Regions from separate parts of the Homo sapiens genome. Here all the other regions are linked to region 2. The links are contacts of gene promoters, found by promoter capture Hi-C in blood cells and fetal thymus (Javierre and others, 2016). All regions are on one chromosome and are shown on one strand. The core of a region is centred on a gene start or on the middle of the fragment in contact, and the rest is flanking DNA. Distances in the headings are between cores, read along the strand shown. Region 1 has its middle 35 kb from the start of SUPT20HL1. Region 2 holds the start of POLA1 (DNA polymerase alpha 1, catalytic subunit). Region 3 has its middle 11 kb from the start of SUPT20HL1.

Region 1 (4,505 bases), core at 1,608-4,107, 300 kb before region 2:
GGCATGTCCACAGAGTTTGGGAAAGAACACGTCAAAAAATTTACCAAAAAAATATGGTCATGAGCTCATGGCTGGAGAGTCCAAAAACCAGAGATGAGCAAGAGAAAATGATTGCTGAAGAATTGTTCATAATATATAACCACAGAGGAAGCTGGAGAGGAGAGGAATGGGGTGGATCTAAAGAAGCCGTCGAGGCTTCAGCTCTTCAATAGCTTTGATTTTGAAGGGATATGTATAGAAACAGAAACCAGACATCAGTAAAGAATCAACACAAATCATGTCAAAAGTTTATCAGATTGGAAATCAAAAGATAGAATGGCCCAGATTTTCAGAAAGTCTAATGTCAGCAATACAAAAATCATTTGTGCTACATTTAGACCAGAAATAAAATAAGGAGAAAATAGGTCTGCTTGGGGTGAGTGAAGTGATACAAGCAAAAGACCACGAGAAAGAACCGTACAATTCCTAGTTTGTTTCCCCCTTTTTCTTATTGTTTATTAAAGAGAATGCTCTTTAAACTGGAAATGGTGAAAGACTCTTGGTTAAAGAAGAGAGAGAGGCAGAAATAGAAAAGAGTGTGAGTGTTTTGAACAAGTTCAAATAAGGCAATCTGTAGGTGGAAGGGGCTGTCATTGGGGGTAGTGCATTCAGTTTTGTATGTCAAGTTTTCAAAGAATCACTGTCTCTTATAAAAAGGGGACAGGGTACCTGGGAAATGAGGTCTCTGAAAGTCATGGCAAGTGAAAGCTGTAAGTGCTAGGTAGGTATAGTCTGGCAAGGGGGAGACATGGAGGAAGGACATCAAGCTAACACAAAAGATGCAAAGGGATGACATTTGGAAAAGGTCTGGACCAGGCTGTGGTAGGGTAGAGAGTAGAACTAAGCCCAGTGGGTTGACATTCCATTGACAGTCCAACGCAGTATGAAACTTCTGAATGCTTAGAAGCAATTAGCATTAAACAACTGCCTCAAGGTAGTGGTGTCTCTACAACAGTAAAGTTTAACCTGAGAGTAACTGAATCTGTCAAGGCTGTTGTAGACAGAATTTTTGTAGAGGATATGAGGCTAGGATCTCAAGCATTCTTTCTTTCTTTTTTTTTGAGACAGAGTCTCACTCTGTCGCCCAGGCTGGAGTGCAGTGGCACGATCTTGGCTCACTGCAACCTCTGCCTCCCGGGTTCAAGTAATTCTGCCTCAGCTGCCCGAGTAGCTGGGATTACAGGTGCCTACCACCATGCCCGGCTAATTTTTGTATTTTTAGTAGAGATGGGGTTTCCCCATGGTCAGGGGGTTTCCCCCCTGACCATGTTGCCCAGGCTGGTCTCGAACTCCTGGCCTTAAGTGATCTGCCCACCTTGGCCTTCCAAAGTGCTGGGATTATGGGCATGAGCCACCACGCCTGGCCCCAAGCATTAGTTCTTAATCTTCTTTAGGCCACGGACTCTTTTGATAATCTGATAAAAATGATAGATTCTCTATGTATTAAAATGCCGGTATGTGCCAACACTACTCTTTATGTTCAATTTCAAGGAGTTCATTTTTCCTAAAGCAGGACTATGGTCCCCAGCTTAAGCCCACCTCTAAAGGGATTCTTCTATCTCTAAAATGCAGCGATTCTAAGTCCTTTCTATAGAAGTTGTATTTTCATGAATCTTTCCTCAGTGACCCTTTGTAAACCTTTTTTTTTTTTTTTTTTTTTTTGAGACAGAGTTTCACTCTTGTTGCCCAGGCAGGAGTGCAATGGCGCGATCTCGGCTCACCGCAACCTCTGCCTCCCAGGTTCAAGCAATTCTCCTGCCTCAGCCTCCCGAGTAGCTGGGATTACAGGCATGCGCCACCACGCCCGGCTAATTTTGTATTTTTAGTAGGGACGGGGGTTTCTCCATGTTGGTCAGGCTGGTCTCGAATTCCTGACTGCAGGTGATCTGCCCACCTCGGCCTCCCGAAATGCTGGGATTACAAGTGTGAGCCACTGTGCCCGGCCTGTAAACATTTTTATGGCTTGATACAAAAAAAGGGGGGTGCTGAGTGTGCTATTTTATGAAACTAGCTGAATGTTCAGGCCGACCAAACATTCTGTCTCCTGATGTATGACTTCCACATTATGGCAGCACTTAAAAATTTTAAACCATCTCTCAGCACCTGTGTGTTTGACACCCACCACACACTATCTAATGCCAAGTCGCAAAGGTTCAACTTTGTAAATCGAAGGACTGATTCAACTTTGTAAATCAAAGGACTGATTCACAGTTATTTGCCTCTTGTTTCCAGCTGTGGTCTGCATCAGGTCGAAGAAATGTTGTAATACACAGAAGCACCACAAGATGACACCCTTGGGAAAGTCTTGCTTTGCAGGTTGGTTTCCCAGCTCTGACGTCTATTCTAAACATAGCCTTACAAAATGCTTGTGGAAGAGGGAAGAGAATCTATTACTGGGGAGGAAAAACACCAATGACAAAACAACCCTGGCACTTTCCTGAGTTTTGGGATACAGAGTCAAGTCTTGATTACTTTCTTCTGCTTCTTAATTATCAGTTTTTGCAGGCAGACACATAGATTTATGTAACACATAAGCATATCTTTCATACACATCTATTTTCTGCCGATGCTGATGCTCTATGTGATTTAGAAGCTGTTCATAACTTGGGAGAAGAGCCTTTCTTCTTTTGTATTGTAAGCTTTCACATCCACTTTTTTTATTGCCTCTGTCCCCTACTTCACTGTCAGTAAGAATATTGGGTTTGCATGGAAACATCATAAAATGCCTTTATGGAAAGAGGAAAGTGTGGTTAGACCAGCTTTTTCTGCCATGAATATCAGGCCAACTGGAGAGAAGATCAAAGCGAAAGGTGAGGGCAGAGTGGGCTAGGATGGAAAGCGGGATTACTCACTGAAATTGACATGTCTGTTCAATCCTTTTGCTCCCTCCAAATTTTTCTTAAAAAAGCAATTAAAAAAACCCCATGTTCATGCTACATTAAGCCTCATGTTTCCATTTCTCATTTTACTGCTTGAGTGGCACTTGCTATCACTTGGTAAGCTTACTTAAGAGAGGGAACAATGTCGATTAGAATACAGTTGTCTGTGTTGAGTAAGAGCCCTCCGTTGGTTTGTGGTCTTTGGCAGGCAGCTAGTAAAAATAATAAGCTCTGAACAGATGCCATGTTTCTTTGGCGAATGGTTTTGGCCAGTCTTCTTTTCATTTTTGTACCTGCAAGTGGAAAATTACTGCTTTAATGAGCTATGTTACCCAGTGGTAAAAATGTTTGAAATTACCCAATGGAGGAAAGCAGTCTTTTGAAAGATTTGTGAGAAGAGGTAATACAAAACCCCAACAAATTCCACTGGGAAATTCTTTTCTTACATTTTATTTCAAGGATAGTTCTGCTAGAAACCTGTATTTCTGAGCAAAGAGCTGTGAAACTGAATTCCAAACTAGTTACAACTGTGGGGAACAAGGCACATAGTCATTTAGAGAGCATCTTTCCTGGCCTGGCTCTGTGCTGGGCATTACTGGCAATGCAGGGATTAAAACGACACTGTTTCTCTCCTCTGGGAGCTTCCAACCTAATGGGAAAGACAAACATACAGAGACCCCATGTTATGCCTGGAATTATAGTTGAGTGCCAAGAGCAAAATAAAATAAAAGTACAGCTCTGCTTGGCTGGGTCTGGCTGCAGCAACTCAAAATCTACTAATATGCAGACGTTCGCAAAGTCAAATTATCTTTTGTCCTTGAAATCTAAGTAGCTGGCTGGATGTGGGTTATTTTTTTTCCTTCTTTTTAATACTTTTCTGTTCTTTGTTGTATTTCTAAAATAAGCATGTTTAGTTTGTTGTTGTTTTTTTTTTTTTTTTGCCCTCTTCATAAAAGCAAGTTGAGTCTGAAAAGGAAAATGTACACTTTTTTTGGGTAATAGTCATAATAATGTTACAAAAGCAAACATTTCCTTAGTGGTTACTATGGTGCCAGGTACTGTTCTAAGTGCTTTTATATATCAACTCATTTTAGTCCTCACAACCACCCTATGAGAGAGGTGCTATTATTACACCCATTTTATAGAGGAACATATGGAGGAAAGGTAACTTGCCCAAGGTTACGCAAGGAGTTAAGTGGCTGAGCAGGCTGGCTCCAGAGTCCAAGCTGCCTAATTTACATTCGGAAGGAAGAGTTTTTTCGCCTAAATTAATTTCCCATGTAACTGATGCTTGTCATCTGTCTCGGGATTGGGCTGGGAGAGAAATGATTTTTGAGAGCAGGATTGGGCTGGCGGGGAGATGCTGGGATTGGAAAGTTAGACCCAAATATGGTTCAGGCACTCAGAGAAGCCTCCAAGTGTTGACCAAAGAGTTTCCAGCTGGTTGGCCTAGACTGGCCTAAAGGGCTTGGGGAAATAGAGTCCTTCTCTAGAAAAGCAGCTGACCCAGTAAGGGAGCATGGAGAAGTGGTTGTAGCAGTGGGAAGGCGGGCAGAGGATCCTGGAGAAAGAGATTGGGGGTTAGGG
Region 2 (4,864 bases), core at 1,651-4,150:
ATCTATCATGTATAATGACTTCTTTTCCTCTGGGTAGATACCCAGGAGTGGGATTGCTGGATCAAATGGTAGATCTACAAAAGTAAGATATTTTAGCTGCAATCAGATATGACTACTTTCCACTTGGTGGTTTGCTGGTAAACCTTAAAAAAATAAAAAGCTCTGATTTGTACCACTTGCCAATTTCCAGGGTGTAAATATTCCCACCATGACTGATTTCAAGCTACCAACAGTTTAACATGGAGATTACAAAATACTGGAATATTTAACAATCAGCTCTTGAGAACCTCCAACTGTCCCTCTGATACACTTCGCTTCTTGCATAGTAGCAGTGAAATAGGCATAGGCATTTTGGGATTCCACTATGGGGAAATGGAGTTGATATTGCATTTAGTTTGGGCTTATTTCTTCTATTTATGTGGGTCGAAGGCACTTAACCCACATATATACTTAAGCCATATATACTTAAGTTATTGATAGACTTTTTTTTTTTTTTGAGACAGAGTCTCACTCTGTCACCCAGGCTGGAGTGCACTGGCACAATCTCGGCTCACTGCAACCTCTGCCTCCCGGGTTCAAGCTATTCTTCTGCCTCAGCCTCCCAAGTAGCTGGGACTACAGGCGCCTGTCACCACACCCGGCTAATTTTTGTATTTTTGGTAGAGATGGGGTTTCATCATATTGGTCAGGTTGGTCTTGAACTCCTGACCTCATGATCTGTCAGCTTCGGCCTGCCAAAGTGCTGGGATTACTGGCGTGAGCCACAGCGCCGGGCTGTTATTCATAGACTTCTTGGTGTAGGAATAGCTTCCAGGAATATTTCTACCCCAGTGTGATGACTTACCAGGAGTTTTGAACTGAAAGTGTAGGGCCAGAAGACATATCATGGTATGAAAGTGTCTGGCCTGGCATGGTGGCTCACACCTGTAATCCCAGCACTTTGGGAGGCTGAGATGAGTGGATCACCTGAGGTCAGGAGTTCAAGACCAGCCTGGACAACATGGTGAAACCCCATCTCTACTAAAAATACAAAAATTAGCCAGGTGTGGTGGCGGGCGCCTGTAATCCCAGCTACTCGGGAGGCTGAGGCAGTAGAGTCGCTTGAACCTGGGAGGTGGAGGTTGCAGTGAGCCGAGATGGTGCCACTGCATTCCAGCCTGGATGACAGAGCGAGACTCCATCTCAAAAAGAGAAAGTGTCCTACAGGTCTTTTCCCACAAAGTATGTGGGTCATTGTCTCAGTCTGTTCAGGCTGCTATAACAAAATACCACAAACTGGGTGGCTAATAAACAACAGGAATTTATTTTTCACAGTGCTGTAGGCTGGGAATTCCAAGATCAAGGTGCCGGCAGATTCAGTGTTTGGGGTAGGCCCACTTTTTGGTCCATAGATGGTGCCTTATTGCTCTGTTCTCACATGGAAGAAGGGGCAAGGCAGCTCTCTGGAGCCTCTTTTCCGAGGGCACTAATCCTATTCATGAGGGAGGGTTCCTGCTGATGACCTAATCACCTCCCAGAGGCCCTACCTCCTAACACCACCACACTGGTGATTAGGTTTCAACGCATACATTTTATGTGGAGAGAAACATTCAGACCACAGCAGTAGTGAAAGAGAAAAGAGGTTTGAAATGCCTAGAGTTATACCCGGGCATGTGGGAAGTAATCAGCTGTGAAATTGTTAAGGTAAGGATTTGGTTCTTATTAATGACTAGCCAACATGGTTCTCTCCTGGTTGGAAAAAGCTTGATAATAAAACTATAAAACTTCCATCAGTTTTTAAAAGGGAAGTGTAGGAATAAATCTGTCGTAGTACTTTAAATAGGAAGTTATGTCTAAGTGTAAATTACTACATGTTATGTATCACAACATATGGATCACATAACATGATATTAAATGATTATGAAGCTGAAAGACATTTTCTAAACAATCAGAAATTAAGAAACAAGTATTGATCAACCATGCTAGAAGACAGATTGAATTATCTTTATATCCTCTTTGGAGAAAATATTACAAAATTGTTGTCACATGAAGAAGGGATCAATAAGCATGTGGGCAATAATGTAGGAAAAAATACAAATGTGTGGCAGGCATTATTTAATAAAAATGTTATACCTTTTTGGAAAGAGATAACATGAGATGTACACATTACAGCCATTGTATCATACACAAAAATTGAATACCCTTTTTGTTTTTCATAACATTGAAATTTTGGAGTTCACGTCAGGTGTTTTGTAGATTGTCCTACATTTTGAATACATCTGATTGTTTCTTCATGGTTAGATTCAGGTTAGACATTTTTTGCAAGAAGACCATATAGGCGAAGTTTTTCCTTTTTCATACGCATTACATCAGGAGGCATATGAGATCAGATGGCCATTTATTGGTAATGCTACTTCTGGTTATTTGGTTAAGACGGAGCATATATCTTTAAGTTGTTAATCACACAGCCACTGTATCCAGACTGCTGAGAAGCAAACTATCAGGCAAAATTCAGGGCGCGCAGCAGGAGGCAGTCGCTTTCCCGGCTCTGGGGAAAACGATCCAACCACGCCCACTCTCCTGCCCGCCCGCGCCTCCTTTCCGGGAAAATGGGCTCTGAGAACCAGAGCGCCCTTTCTCCCACGCGCCCAAATCTTTTCCCATCAGCATGCGTGCGCTTGCGCAGTCTCCAGGCGGCTCCTTTCCAGCGCCCGACCGCTTCTTTCTCCTGCTCTCCTCCGGCTTCCCCTCAGCTCTAGCTTTTCCCTAAGGGGTCATCACAGGGCGCCAAACGCGCGTCCGCGGGAAGGCCGGGGGCGGAGCGCGGCGCGGCGCGGCACGTCAGTGGCCTTCCGGCCGGAAGTCCGCAGCCTCCCGAGCCGCTGATTGGCTTTCAGGCTGGCGCCTGTCTCGGCCCCCGCGCCAGTTTTGGGCTGGTTGGCGCGGAATCGGGAGATTCGGGACCATGGCACCTGTGCACGGCGACGACTGTGAGATAGGGGCGAGTGGTGAGGGACAATTCCGCGCGCGGGGCTCCGGGTTGGGACAGTGGCATGATTGCCGGTGGTGGGGGTTCTGAGGGAGGCGCACACCCGGGTTTGTTTGGGCGCAGACCTTGGTCGTCCCCGGCGGGGGCCCTTCTGGCGTCGGACCGGGCTTCCTTTAGGCGCGGTTTGCTCTTGGAGGACCAGAGCCTGGAGGGATTTTTGTTTGGGAGGCTGTCTCACCTCTGCCACTGAGAGTCTCCACAGTCGATTGCGTTTCTATTTCTTTTGGTGAGTTGCACCCACGTGCTGGGTATAACTTTATTGAGACTGGCCCCGTGGGGCCGAAAGTATTTCACTGCGATCTCCCTAAGTATCCACTTGAAGGCTTGAACAGAACAGATCTGTGTCCCTTTTTGTAGGAACTTCCAGGAAAATTTTATACATTGTAACTAAGCAGGAAAGAAAGCTCTAAGTGCTGTCATCGGGGAATAACGCGTTTTGTATTTTTAGGTAATGGGTTTCTACTTTATGCATTAACAATTTTTCTTTCAGATTCTTTGGAAAGTTCTTCAAGTGCTGCGTAGAAATCCTGTTCACAATCTAGTCATTCCTGGTGAAGTTTCAAAAAAATGGCATCAATTTAGGGCATTTCGGATCCCCTGTATATCACTCCGTTTGTCAGGGGTGTCTTTTATTTCCAAAAATAGAATACAAAAATGCAAATAGATTTGTCTGATTTTTTAAGTGTTCAACTAAAGCGTGACTTCAGTTAACTTCTAACTTAAAATCAGATGCTTCACTTTGTTAGCTCAAGCGTCACCTCTCCTGTCATTCAGATACATCACCATTAATGAGAACTCGCTTCCTAATCAGCTTCCTTTGCATTCACCTAGTTGTGAGTCACAGATTTCAATTTGTTCTAGCCGTTCGTTTTTTAAGACTATTTTGGAGAGTCGACCTGCCTGGATTACAGATAGGATGTTGGGTGTAAGTATGTGAACGAACAGTCTTTGCAGGCCTCTATCAGTGATTTGCCACTAAGCCCTTTCTTCATCCTAAAAACTACGTCATCTATGAACATCAGGAAATCACTTTGGAGGATACTGTGCAATCTTGAGACTCCTCTTAGGTCATGGTGTTCATTAAGTAGTTGCTGGGGACTTGTGACTGGAATTTTTCCTTTAGAGCAGACTGAAGGATTGTTACCTGAAAGACTGCTGTAAGCTAGTGTCTGTCTGCTTTTGGGGAGGATAGAGATACTCCAGATGGTAATTTTGAAACAAATATTTAAACCTTTGTAGCTGGATTTTTTTCATGCTTATTCTTTTTTTGCTAAGTTACCTACGTGAAGCATTGGAGACATACTCCAAAAAACAAAATGTAGGCTTTTTTTTTTCTTCAGTATTAGCAGGCAGGGCACCTTGATAATGGCAGTGAAAAGTTGAAAGGTCTGTAACTAGCTGTTACTATATATGAAAAAAGATCAGGGAATTTTTATTTATTTATTTATTTTTGAGACAAAGCTTCCCTCTTGTTGCCCAGACTGGAGTGCAGTGACGTGATCTCAGCTGGCTGCAACCTCTGCCTCCTGGGTTCAAGCAGTTCTGCCTCAGCCTCCCGAGTTGCTGGGATTACAGGTGCCCACCACCACACCGGCTAATTTTTTGTATTTTCAGTAGAGACAGGGTTTCACCATGTTGGCCAGGCTGGTCTTGAACTCCTGATGTCAGGTGATCCACCTGTCTCTTCCTCCCAAAGTGATGAGATTACAGGCATGAGCCACTGCGCCCGGCCAGGGAAAGTTTAATGATCAAAAAAGCAGGTACAGTGGTTCATTCATTGGTTCATTCAGCAAATATTTATTATATACCTACTAGGTATAAGCCTTCTGCCAGGCT
Region 3 (4,479 bases), core at 59-2,558, 320 kb before region 2:
CAGTCAACTCAACAACCCGTATCTACCCTAAAGTGCTTGGAACCTAAGGGAGTGGGAGAGAGGAGAGGCACTGCACTTTTTTTTCTTTTTTTTTTGAGGTGGAATCTTCCTCTGTTGCCCAGGAGAGCAGTGGCGTGATCTCGGCTCACTGCAACCTCTGCCTCCCGGGTTCAAGTGATTCTCCTGCCTCAGTCTCCCAAGTAGCTGGGATTACAGGTGCCCGCCACCACGCCCAGTTAATTTTTGTATTTTTAGTAGAGATGGGGGTTTCACCATGTTGGCCAGGCTGGTCTCGAACTCCTGACCTCAGGTGATCCACCCACCTAGGCCTCCCAAAGTGCTGGGATTACAGGCGTGAGCCACCGTGCCTGGCCGGCACCACTCTTTTATTCTTCCTTTTGCACCTCCTTCCTGTGCATCTTCTGGGTCTCTAGCTCCTCCTGCAGAAGTGAAACCTGATCAGCCATGAGTTGATAATTGTGGGAGCTGCTGGTTGATGGGTATATGGAGACTCATTATACTATTCTACTTCGGCATATGTTTGAAATTCATTTATATATGAATTCATAGATATTATATCCATTTGAATAGTCAAGTTCCTGATATTCCTACAGCCCCATTAACACACCTTCCCCCCATCCCAACCTTTATCTTGTACTCGAAGTCCAGGCCCCAGCCCTCGACTTGCCCTTCTGTCTTCCCTGCTTTACTCCCATAGCAGGCAGCAAAGGGTGTGCGAGTTAATTGTTAAATTCAGTTCAACAAGTTCCTCATTAGGGACAAATTACCTGAGTTTGAAATCTGCTAATTTTCCAATCAGAGTGAGTGTTTGCACTTATGATTTGGAAATAATTACCATATGGTAAAAGCAAAACCTATTTGGGGATTAAAGTAAAGGTGAGGGAGGACAGGAGCTTATTTTGGCAACTTCCCTGGAAACCCACGTTAGCATTTGCAGATTAGTGGAGGTGCCTCTGCAGTTGGGGTGGGAAAGCTCACCTGTAGCACTGTTTTGCAAAGGCTGTTTACTTCATGTGCTAATACCCCTGAAAGGTGACTGTGGCCTTTGAAGGGAGAGCAGTGTGGCTTTTGTAGGCCAGAATTACATCTGGGAAAGAGAAAAGCCTTTTGAATGTAGCTATTTCATCTAAAAATATATCTATACTTTTATTTAAATCTGTCCTCAGTCTGAAGCTTCTGCATGAGTTGGAAATAAAAACATTTCTTTGAGGTAGAAGGGGTGAGTCTAATTGTCCTTTGGGTGATCTCACAATGAATGTAGCAGGGAAAGTTCAACTGAGAGAATTTAAAGAATTATAGGAGAGTAATTGCTGCAGAATACCACTGTGATCCAGAGTGTAGAGATCTAGGTCATTCACCTTCAATAATTTGTCCCAGTCCCAATTACTACATCACTAGTTCTAAAGCTTTAGAAACCCCTTGGTAAAGATTAGTCAAGGTTTCAGGTAATTTACAAGCCAATGCAGAAAAACTTCTGAGATGTTGCTTTTGAAATTTGGAGCCAGGAAAAGCTTTGTCTCTCCTGAGAAGGCATCCTTCCTCCTTTCTGATAACTGTAGTTGTGCAAGTTCTGAGGTTTCTCTTTGTGCCTCAGCTGCCGGGAAACTCAAAACCAAATTTGTAGCTCAAATCGCTGCGTTTACATTTATGGTTGGCACTTCAGCATTCCTCACTTCTTATTTTTTATTTCTACTTTACTAGTTCTTTTTATTTGTCTTTTGTCTTGGGAAACTGGAAACAGCCCCCTCCATGTGTCAACACATCCATCAATAAATAGTAGCTTCTATTCATTTATATATGCTGCCTCTAATCCTTTTAATAACCTAGTCATAATGTCCATTAGGTATGATTATCCTTACTTGCAAGTGAAGAAACAGGCTCAGATAGTCCTTGCCTGAGGCAATAAAGCTATTAAGTGGCACAATTTTTCAGCTCCCTTTCTGTCTGCTTCTGAAGTCTATGCCTTGTGCCTGGGTACATGTAACTGATGCATTGATGAGTCTCAACTCAGTGGTGGACTATACAGGTGAAACCATTTTATTTTTCCCAACCACTGCTTTCAACCATGCAGCACCAAGTCCCTTTTCCCATCCTTTAATGACACCTTGGGTGGACCTCATGACTTGCTGGGCTCTCTTGTTTGGTAAAGCTGACAGTCCCAATTACAATTTCAATATCGTATTCTCTGGTCTGGTGGGTGGGGGAGGACGAGAGAAGGGAGAGAGAAATCTTCCTGCGAAAATGGTCCTTTTGCAGGTGTGATGCTCTGATTTGCTGAGTGAGGTGAAGGGTCTCTGAGCACGGGGCTGGTTCTTTTTTCTGCGGCGACGGTGTTGAACTTCACTTGGATTCTGACTCCTCTGGGGCCTCTTGAAGAGCGGCTCTCTTAGTAAGCCCTGCTGTGCTCCTTCCTGTGGAGCCTTTCCAAATTCAGAAGCTGTGGGCTCACGGGATCAAGGTGGAAGTGATGCTCCCATTTGCTTTCCGGGCACACCGCCCCTCAGTACCTTTTGAACCGCTCACGTTCAGATGTCTCTAGACCACAAGGGGGCACCAGACTCCAGGTTCACATACAACACATCCCTCAAAGAATATGCGTCAAGCTCGCCCACAGTTTCCAAGGCTCCAGGGTGGTCCAGTGTGGGCCTGCGGGTCTGTGCAGCTCCACACGAGCCCAGGCAGTAAAACTGGATGCCAACTTTGCCTTCATGCAGACCTCCGACTCTCCAGGAGCGACCCTCTTAGAGGTCTCCCTTCTACATACAACTCTTGGCTTGGGAGAGCAGGGGAGTCCCAGCACTCCTTTCCTCACCCCTTCCTACTCTGTCCCAAGAAAAGAAAAGCTCCCCCCTCCACCCCAGGAACACTCAACTTCTCTCCCTCCCCTTCCCATCCTCCCGTAGCTACAGAGGCTGGAAAAGAGTGGTTGAAGGGAACGGTCAGAGTCCAAATAGGGCCAGTTCTGCCATCTCTTAGTACTCTCTGAGAACGTGTCTGCTGGCTGGTTGCAGCCCCTCGTTAGGATGTGGGAGCACCTGATGCTTTTTGTTTCCACCTTTGGCAACTCTGGGACAACAGGAAAAGTCCTATCATGCGTGAGCGCCACACACACACGCGCGCGCGCGCGCACACACACACACGCACGCACATACACAAGCACACACACGCACGTGCACACAAGCACGCACACACGCACGCGCGAACACACGCACGAGCACACACACACACAGTGCTTCCCAGCCTTCTCCCATCCTTGCCTATTTAAGATCTCTGGCTTTGCCCTCCCAATTTCCAATGGGAAAGAGCAGAAGGAAAAGCGATGAGGCCTATGGCTGGTGAGACAGGTTTTGGAAGGACTGTTTTGGGTGAGTCTGATAAACTCTAACGAGTTTATTGTAAGACTTGAGAAAGTCAGTGTGAAGCGGGAGGCAGCTTGAGAAACTTTAGCTCTCTACGCCTGTCTTCGCTATGGAGCGCATTCTTTGATATGGAAAAGTGATGCTTCTAAGAACTGTGTAAAGTGTTATGCAAATAGAGCTTCAAAACAAATCCCCTAATGCCCTGCCTTCTTCTAAGCAGGATTACTCTTGGGCTCTAAGCGGCTCCTCTACAGAAATGTTAAACTTCCACTGGAAGTAAGAAGGGGAAGGGGAACGGGGTGATTTTTAACAAGTGATATTTGGAGCTATGCATCTTTTTCATACTCCCTGAGAAGCCAGTTATTTTGAAATGATTGTTTGGCAGTGTTTGGAGAGTGGGAGGTTTGAAGTTGAGATTATGGAGGCTCTTATGGTTATTGATAATGATGAGTTCTACTGTAAAACCATGGTAGTGTGGTTGCCTGTGGTTGATGTCTTAACAGGATCTTTGCAGGAGAGGAGGTCAAGGAGTTGAAGGCCCAGGCTACTGGAAGGATTATCTATGTGGATACCAAAATCATCAAGAATTCATACTGCTGGCATAGTGTTGAAGAGGATGATAATGAGTCAGGCCCTAGAATCTTCAAGGTATGGTGGGGAAGAAGAGGGGTTTGGTTTTAGAGGTCAATTACATCAAGATGACCCTTAATATTGATTGTAGGGAAACTGCTTCAATGTCTTGTGTGTGTGTGTGTGTGTGTGTGTGTGTGTGTGTGTGTGTGACAGAGTCTTTCTCTCTCACCCAGGCTGGAGTGCAGTGGTGCCATCTCGGCTCACTGCAACTTCCGCCTCCTGGGTTCCAGCGATTCTCCTGCCTCAGCCTTCCGAGTAGCTGGGATTACAGGCGCCTGCCACCATGCCTGGCTGATTTTTTGTATTTTTAGTAGAGACGGGGTTTTGCCATGTTGGCCAGGCTGGTCTGGAACTCCTGACCTCATGTGATCTGCCCGCCTTGGCCTCGCAAAGTGCTGGGATTACAGGTGTGACCCACCGTGCCCGGCCTTCAATGTCATTTTTTAAGTATTGAGAGCATGCTTAC

The links. Contacts are between HindIII fragments. The CHiCAGO score rates a contact against its expected background, and 5 or more counts as called.
Region 1: a contact is called between a fragment that was not itself captured here and the fragment with the promoter of POLA1 in region 2, in 1 of 17 cell types (total B cells). The highest score is 6.5, in total B cells.
Region 3: a fragment that was not itself captured here is called in contact with the fragment with the promoter of POLA1 in region 2 in 1 of 17 cell types (M2 macrophages); the score reaches 5.1 in M2 macrophages.

What each region holds. Positions count from the first base shown.
Region 1 is chrX:24,393,627-24,398,131 of GRCh38, forward strand. No RefSeq gene overlaps it. Among named protein-coding and RNA genes, the nearest start is that of SUPT20HL1, 35 kb to the left of the region's middle. The HindIII fragment of the contact is 362 bases long and covers 2,677-3,038 here.
Region 2 is chrX:24,691,018-24,695,881 of GRCh38, forward strand. POLA1 (DNA polymerase alpha 1, catalytic subunit) reads left to right here and starts at 2,901. Exons shown (of 37, transcript NM_001330360.2): 1 at 2,901-2,987. The coding sequence starts at 2,945. RefSeq lists enhancers at 870-1,370, 3,073-3,162 and a silencer at 2,723-2,882. The HindIII fragment of the contact is 2,747 bases long and covers 1,741-4,487 here.
Region 3 is chrX:24,369,008-24,373,486 of GRCh38, forward strand. No RefSeq gene overlaps it. Among named protein-coding and RNA genes, the nearest start is that of SUPT20HL1, 11 kb to the left of the region's middle. RefSeq lists an enhancer at 2,499-3,274. The HindIII fragment of the contact is 233 bases long and covers 1,193-1,425 here.